Regions from separate parts of the Homo sapiens genome. Here regions 1 and 3 are each linked to region 2. Evidence: promoter capture Hi-C in human tissues and cell types (Jung and others, 2019). All regions are on one chromosome and are shown on one strand. The core of a region is centred on a gene start or on the middle of the fragment in contact, and the rest is flanking DNA. Distances in the headings are between cores, read along the strand shown. Region 1 overlaps LOC102725238 (a long non-coding RNA gene). Region 2 holds the start of ACLY (ATP citrate lyase). Region 3 holds the start of TUBG2 (tubulin gamma 2).

Region 1 (2,700 bases), core at 1-2,500, 510 kb after region 2:
TATTCACAATGTTGTGCAAGAATCAACTTTCATCAGCCCCCAGAAAGCCCCCGACAAAGAAAAAACACTAAAGGGAGACTTTATCCTAAAGAATGTTTGCAAGGAGGGGAAAAAGACTGTTGCAATACGGGGAGGGAGTCTATTGCAATAGGGAGAAGGATCGGCCCATAGTTCTGCAAATGTCTTAAGGGCCAGACCTTTTTCCTTTTATAGAGAGGAGTAAACAAAGCTAGAAAGAACCAGGTGTAGAGAATAGGAGGAAAGTGGCCTGATGAGAGAATAGATCAGAGAATGTTTTACCCTGAGGTCAGGCTATCCTCAGGAGGGGTTGTGTGCTGGCTCAGGCCCAGTGAGGGTGGGCCAGAGTTCAGGGCCTGGAGGAAGAAGAAAAGCTTAAACAAAATGTGTTATTTTTTTTTTTTGAAACGGAGTTTCGCTCTTGTTGTCCAGGTTGGAGTGCACTGGCGCTATCTTGGCTCATAGCAACCTCCGCCTCCCAGGTTTAAGAGATTCTCCTGCCTCAGCCTCCCGAGTAGCTGGGATTACAGGCATGCGCCACCATGCCCGGCTAATTTTTTGTATTTTTAGTAGAGACAGGGTTTCTCCATGTTGGTCAGCCTGGTCTCGAAGTCCCAACTTCAGATTACAGGCTTAAGCCACCGAGCCCAGCCTTTTATTTATTTATTTATTTTTGAGACGGAGTCTCACTCTGTCACCCAGGCTGGAGTACAATGGCGTGATCTCGGCTCACTGCAACCTCCGCCTCCCGGGTTCAAGTGATTCTCCCACCTCAGCCTCCTGAGTAACTGGGATTACAGACACACGCCATCATGCCCGGCTAATTTTTGTATTTTTGTAGAAACGGGTTTCACTATGTTGGCCAGGCTGGCCTTGAACTCCTGACCTCAGGTGATCTGCCCACCTTGGCCTCCCAAAGTGCTGAGATTACAGGTGTGAGCCACCACGCTGAACCAACAAAATTTGTTTAATGAGCATTTTGTTCATCGTGATCAGTGTTGGGAAAACCAGTTTAGCTGGTCATTCATGAGGCAGAGAATAAGAATTTGAAGTTCTGTGTCTGTTCCTGTCACAGGTAAACAATGGGGGGCATCTGCGAGTCACATGGGGAAGGGTGGTTCTTGGCAGTAAACAAAAACATAGGGGATTCCTTTAACCTTGGATGTTTTCCAAGAGCACAGGGCTCAGGTGAAATTCACCACTGTTACCTCATACCCATTAGCTGTCACTCCCCACTCCTCTCTTCCCTGTCCCCTAGCAACCAGTAAGTTTTAAGTCTCTATAGATTTTCCTGTTCTGAACACTTCATATGAATGGAATCATACAATTTGTAGCCTTTTGTGTCTCGCTTCTTTTACTTAGCATGTTTTCAAGGTTGATCTATGTTGTAGCATGTATCAATACTTCATTCCTCTTTATGGCTATATTCCGTTGTATAAATATGCCCCATGCTGTTTATCCATTCATCAGCTGATGGACGTTTGAGTTGTTTCCATTTTTTTGTTTTTTTAAGAGACAGTCTCCCTGTTGCCCAAGCTGGTGTGCAATGGCACAATCATGGCTCACTGCAACCTCAAACTACTGGTCTCTAGCCATCCTCCTTCCTCAGCCTCCCAAGTAGCTTGGACTACTGGTCACAACAGGCTAATTTTTTTTTTAGACGGAGTCTTGCTCTGTCACCCAGGCTGGAATACAGTGGCACAATCTCGGCTCACTGCAACCTCTGCCCCCTGGGTTCAAGCAATTCTCCTGCTTAAGCCTCCCGAGTAGCTGGGATTACAGGTGCGCATGACCACGTCTGGCTAATTTTTGTATTTTTAGTAGAGACGGGGTTTCACCATGTTGGTCAGGCTGGTCTCGAACTCCTGACCTCATAATCCACCCACCTCAGCCTTCCAAAGTGCTGGGATTACAGGCGTGAGCCACCATGCCCCGCCTAAACCAAATATCTTTCCTCAAAAGCTAGAATGCTTCTTGGCTTATTTCTGTTGATGGTGGGACCGTCCTATCAAACACCAGAGACTCCAACCTTAGAATTATATTTATCTCCTCTCTTTCTCTCATCTACTAAAGCAAATGAAATCCCAGATCCTGCCTTCCTTCCTTCATTATCACTCCCCTGTAATTCCCATTTCTGTGACTGTCTGTCTGATCCTGTTGTTACCAGCTGATGGCTGTTACTGTACTTTCCTAGTTTGTCTCTGTGTCTCCAACCTTTTCCTTCCAATTCATAATGCATTTTAGAATGAAAATTGATTTGAAAAACTGTAAATGATAGTTTGGAAGGTGCTGGGACTAGAAAAAAGGAGATCTAACAGGAGACTACTGCAATAGTCCCAGCAGGGGAAGATGATCATTTGAACTAGAGCATTACGGGGCACAGAGAGAGGACTGATGGGTGAGCACTATAGCATGAAAACCATTAGGGCTTGATGAATGAGTACATGTAGATACTGAAGGAGAAGGAGGAGTCTAAAATATTACAATTTTGGCTGGGTGCAGTGGCTCACGCCTGTAATTCCAGCACTTTGGGAGGCCAAGGCAGGCGGATCATTTGAGGTCAGGAGTTCAAGATCACCCTGGCCAACATGGTGAAACCCTGTCTCTACCAAAAAATACAAAAACTAGCCGGGTGTGGTGGCGCATGCCTGTAGTCCCAGCTACTTGGGAGGCTGAGGCAGG
Region 2 (2,700 bases), core at 137-2,636:
TGGGGATGCTACTAAGGGTGCCTCTGGGAAAGACAAAAACACTCATTTGAAGGTTAGTATCTGCAGGATTGGGACTTACGTATGTAGGTATTTATTTATTTATTTTTTGAGAAGACAGGCAATCCCTGGAGTAAATTCTAGAGAGGCAGAATTCTGTGAGTGCCCCTTACTGCGGCAGGCATAGTGTCAGAACGGGGATGGAGCCATAAGCTGTCCAGTGTCTGAGGGGTCTTCCCACTACCGCCCCCCAAGCTGTTTAGGAAGGTTTCTAAGAGGTGAAAATCACCCATCTGGGCAAATGAGACCTACCAGCTGTCCCTCACCCCACATTTTAGTTCAGCTGAGCCAGCTGAAAACACAGAGGAAAGTTAAGGGTGGAGAGGAGTAGGCTAGCTGGCCAAACTGTGCTGTGCACTTTTCCTTATCGTCTCTTCCAAAATCCTCTTCCCAGGAAGACCTCCAGGGACCCCATAACGGCAGAACTCGGCACTGCACGGTATCTGCCAAGGTTGGAGACCGCGGCAGGCGCTGGGACTGGCCCATTGCCAGGCTCGACAGGAGGGCGGCGGCAGCATCCTCCAGCCCCTTGAGGACCTTTCCCCGGCCAGACTTGGCGTCAGCTCAAGGGTGGGGTGGCACCCCGGCCATCTGTCACTTAGGGGCTGGACTCGACGATACCTCCAGTGCGAGGAGGGTCCTTGCTGCGAGATTCCAGTCCTCGCGGCGAGACGAGGCGAGGCCTCGGGCACCCTGGGGCAGCCTGGCCCCGCGTGGCCCGCCCCGGAGGCGCGCATAGCTCATTCTCTCCACTTGGGCGTGGAGCTCAATTTTGTACCCACGGAACCAAGAAGGGCCTGAGCCCGGCCAGTGAGGAATCGGAGTGGGACCAGTCGCCACCGCTTTCTCTACTTCCCGTCCCGGCATCCGATGGGGGAACCCGGATGGAGCCAAAAGGCGTCCCGATGAGCCCGAGGAGCCTCGATAGCTGTGCCCGGGAGGGGTGAGGCGCGCCAGGAGGGGGACCATGCAATGTGGCAGAGGCAGAAGAGGCAAGGATGGCGGCAAGCCCCATGCAAACTCCCAGGAACTGGAATATGTGTGTGTCGCGCGGGGGGAGGGGAGGGGCGTCGACACGCGGCCACCGGCCGGGACCCCGGGCGAAGGCTAACCTAAAGCTAAGACCCTCAAAACTTCCGAGCAGGGCGCGTGGGCACCGAGCCCGCGTCGGGGAAGGCGGTTCCGGGTTGGGGGACGGAGGCAGGAAGCTCCTAGGGCGAGCGGGCTCCAGCCAGCGAAAACAGCCTCCCGTGCTCACCTCTGCCGAAGTCCGTGCGCGGCGCTTCTTCCACAGGCCCGACGAACCCCGCAAAATCCGGAGCACCCCAGCAGCCGGTAGCTTCCCGGGATCCGGCTTTTGTCCCGGCCCAGCCGGACTTTTCCCCGCCCCCATCGGCTCGCGGCGAGAACGGCCCCGCGATTGGCCACACGCGTTCCCTAGCCTGAGCGCCAGGGCTCCTCCCAATTCGCTGCTGGCTTGGCTCCGCCCCACGAGGGCGGGCCCCGGGGCCTGCTGGGACTTGTAGTCCCGCTGGCCCATCCACCGCCTCTTGGGAGCCTGCGGGGCCGGGGCGGGGCCCCGGGTGGGGAGATGGGCCGGGCTAGGCTGGGAGGAGAACGCGCGGTGCTGGGGGTTGTGGCCTGATCGCTTGAGGGGCTGGACAGATTGCCACTCGGGGAGTTGGGGGAGGGGCGGGTAGGATTAGCCCAACTGGCTGTAACGCAGCTTTGGGACCTGGAGTACCCTTGCTCCTTCCCTTGGGAGAAACGGACGTCTGCATCTCGGCCGCACCGAATCCGATTGCTTAGACAGTCTCCTTAAGCAGCAGTGTCTGGCAGGCCGCTTTCCTTTAGCACGTGGAGCCTCTCTCCTCCCTGGACTCTCCCCACTGGGCCGATGAGGCAAGGCTGAGCCGAGGCTAACAGAGCATACTTCCCAGTGTGGGATAAGGCAGGGGCCGCGGTAAGCAAGTGGGGCTAGGAGGGTGCAGGCACAGCGCTGTCCGTCCCACTCACCTGCTCGCCTCAGCACGGATCAGGGCGGAGCTAGGAATTCAATGCGAGATTCCAGCGAAGGGCTGGAGCCATCCCAGACAGTCTCTTGTTCCCACCAACCACAGGCTTAGACACTGGAATGAATGAACTGCTGTCTCCCCCTTCTCCATTACCTGAGACAGATCGAATTTTCCAAACCAAAAACTGGGACATCCAATCTGACAGGTGCTGGTGAACTTGTGGGGCAGAATATGTGAAATCAGTCCTGGAAATCAGGACATGTATTTACCACTCTGACATGCTGCAGCCTCCCTCCCTACCTGCACCCCAACCCTGTAGGTCCGGAGCTGCTCCCTAAGCCTAACAGCTGTCTAGCTCCAGGAAGGAGGCCAAAAGCGTCCACTGACCGACTCAGGTGAAGAGGTCAGCCCAGAATGCAGGGAAGCAGCAGGCCTGTCCCCCTGCCAAGCACTTTGGGTCATACTCACACTGCAACAGTGTTGCGACATTTGCAGACAAAATCTTCTCCAAGACCCCCTCCCCCAATCCTGTTGCTGCCAGGAGTAAGGTAACTGAACTTGCTACCCATGCCTGAATCAAGTGTTCCCTGATGATGTCACTTTCTGGTCCCTTCCCTCCCATTCATCT
Region 3 (2,767 bases), core at 253-2,752, 740 kb after region 2:
ATGAGTCAAGCACAGGTTAGTTTTTATGGACAAAAAAGGGTAGAGAAAAATAGAAACAGAAGGAAAAAAAGCAGATGGGTCCTTTCAAAGTTACTTTTCTTGTAAAAGGACTTCCGTATCATGCCGGCTCACACTGGCTTGTTTGGGGTTTTGGCTCTTCCTTCCCTCTCCTGATTCCTCTGAAGGTTTGATAAACAACTTAGTGTTGCTTAGTGACATAGAACTTTAGCGTGAGTGACTCCATTTTGGTTTGGTCTGTTGAGCCAAGCACAGGAGCTCAGTGCAAATCAATGGCCTCCTATAAAATTTATTTAACTGAACCCTTGTGCATTGCTGGTGGGAATTTAAAATGGTGCAGCTACCATGGAAAATCGTATGGCGATTCCTCAGAACATTAAACACAATTACCATATGATCCAGCAATTCTACCTCTGGGTGTATATCCAAAATAATTGAAAGCAGGGACTCGAACAGATATTTGTACACTCACATTCAAAGCAGCAACATTCACAATAGCCAAAAGGTGGAAGCAACCCAAATGTCCATGGAGGGATGAATGGTTATGCAAAATGTGGTACATCTATACAATGGAATATTATTCAGTTGTAAAAAGGAAGGAAATTCTGACACATGCTACGAAATGGAAGGATCTTGAAGATATTATGTTAAGTGAAAGAAGCCAGACCCAAAAAGACAAATACTGTATAATTCCACTCATATCAGGTGCCTAGAGTAGTCAAGGGGAAGTTACTGTTTAATCGCGATAGAGTTTCAGTTTGGGAAGATAAGAAAGTTCTAGAAAAGAATGGTGGTGGTGGTTACAGAACAATGTGAGTGTACTTGGTGCCACAGAACTGTATGCAGTACTTACAAATGGTTACAATGGTAAATTTAGGCCAGGAGTGGTGGCTCATGCCTGTAATCCCAGCATTTTGGGAGGCCAAGGCAGGAGGATTGATTGAGGCCAGTAGTTTAAGACCATCTTGGGCAACACGGTGAGATCCCCATCTCTATAAAAATACATTTTAAAAATTTAAAAATTAGCTGGGCGTGGTAGCACACGCCTGTAGTCCCAGCTACTCGGGAGACTGAAGTGGGAGGATCACTTAAGCCAGAAGTTCAAGGCTACAGTGAGCTATGATCGCGCCACTGCACTCCAGCCTGGGCGACAGAGCGAGACCCTTCTAAAAAATAAAAAGGTAACATACATGTGTATGTATTGTAACACCATTAAAAAACAGAAATTTAAACGAAGAAAAGTTGGCTTCTAGCCCTTTGATCTAGCAAAGCTGACAGTGTCCTCACCTACCAATATAGGTAGATGACTCCTTACACGTGGACAAGCACATCCACCTGGCCGCTTCTCCCCTTTCCTCCCCTCCCCCGTTCCTCTCCTCCCCAACACATCCAGGTTCCGACCCTGCCACCCCCAACGAGTCTCACTGCGCAGGCGCGGAGCGGTGGGCAGGAGCGGGCGTGGCCTGACTCTGCGCCTGTGCGGAATTCCAGCTGCGACTGCTGAGGGAGAAAATGATGCCCAGGTTGGGCTCCCCGGCCCACCGGCCGAGGAGAGGCCTGCGCTGCACACGCGCAGACCGAGCATCCGCGTCAAGAGGCGAAGAGAGCGCGCGCTCCCCACGTCCTGCGCTCCTGGCTGCCGGGCATTCGTCTCAGCCGTGACTCTCGCCAGGCCGGGGCTGGCGCGCCCACGTCTGAAGAGCGATGCCCCGGGAGATCATCACCCTGCAGCTGGGCCAGTGCGGCAACCAGAGTGAGCAAGCGAGCGCCGGCCCCGCCGGTCTCTGGTTCTGCCCCTTCGGGTCCCACCCAAGTGCCTGGCTTCCACCAGTCCCCCTTTCCCTTCCATGAACCCCCTGCCCTGCTGCTCTGGATAACCCAGACCGAGAGCTGCGCCTCCAGCCCGGGGCTGGGGCAGCTACCAAACCCAGGCATCTTGGGTCCACCCTCTGATCGTGTCAGCCTCTGAGACTAAAACTGGGCTCCTCAGGCCTTAAGGCTCCAGCAGACCCGGGCATCTCCCCCCTCCCCCAGTTGGGTTCGAGTTCTGGAAACAGCTGTGCGCCGAGCATGGTATCAGCCCCGAGGGCATCGTGGAGGAATTCGCCACCGAGGGCACTGACCGCAAGGACGTCTTTTTCTACCAGGTGCCCCCAGCGACTTGGCCGGGGGCGGCAGTGGCCCAAGGGGGCGGAAGGGAAGGGAGTGGCCTGGTACTGGGAACCCCGCTGGGCAGTAGGGCCAGGCGGCTGGCTTGAGGAGGGAGGGCCGGAGGGAGCCAGAGTTGGGAGGACTTCGGACTTGGGCCGCCCTAGCTGATTGGGCCCCCTCCTGGACTCCCCTTGACAGGCAGACGATGAGCACTACATCCCCCGGGCCGTGCTGCTGGACTTGGAACCCCGGGTGATCCACTCCATCCTCAACTCCCCCTATGCCAAGCTCTACAACCCAGAGAACATCTACCTGTCGGAACATGGAGGAGGAGCTGGCAACAACTGGGCCAGCGGATTCTCCCAGGTGTCCTAGCGACCATTCCAGAGACCTTTGATATTCCCATCCAGAGGCAAGGCAGGCTCAAGCTACTAGGAATTTGACCTGACTGACAGAAAATAAGAGACAAAAGGATGTCCCGAACAAGAGGGACAGCCAGGGAGAGGTTTATGCAAATTTTGTGCAAATCATTTGCAATAGTAGCACTTCTGGGTTGAGGGCTACAGCCTAGGCTCTGCTTCAGGGTGGCAACAATATT

Evidence for each region. The method cuts DNA at HindIII sites, captures the fragments that hold promoters and counts their contacts. A contact is called where the count stands out against the background at its distance.
Region 1: a fragment that was not itself captured here is called in contact with the fragment with the promoter of ACLY in region 2 in 1 of the 25 tissues and cell types used here (small bowel).
Region 3: a contact is called between the fragment with the promoter of TUBG2 here and the fragment with the promoter of ACLY in region 2, in 1 of the 25 tissues and cell types used here (spleen).

Annotation. Positions count from the first base shown.
Region 1 is chr17:42,431,754-42,434,453 of GRCh38, forward strand. The region is part of intron 2 of LOC102725238 (a long non-coding RNA gene); the gene reads left to right. Among named protein-coding and RNA genes, the nearest start is that of CAVIN1, 9.8 kb to the left of the region's middle. The HindIII fragment of the contact is 7,652 bases long and covers 1-2,700 here.
Region 2 is chr17:41,917,565-41,920,264 of GRCh38, forward strand. It overlaps ACLY (ATP citrate lyase), which reads right to left and starts at 1,387. Exons shown (of 29, transcript NM_001096.3): 1 at 1,316-1,387. RefSeq lists silencers at 790-1,029, 1,510-1,769. The HindIII fragment of the contact is 39,518 bases long and covers 1-2,700 here.
Region 3 is chr17:42,657,782-42,660,548 of GRCh38, forward strand. TUBG2 (tubulin gamma 2) reads left to right here and starts at 1,503. Exons shown (of 11, transcript NM_016437.3): 1 at 1,503-1,771; 2 at 2,053-2,165; 3 at 2,368-2,535. The coding sequence starts at 1,723. RefSeq lists enhancers at 1,335-2,102, 1,460-1,519, 1,530-1,599, 1,650-1,719. The HindIII fragment of the contact is 23,957 bases long and covers 1-2,767 here.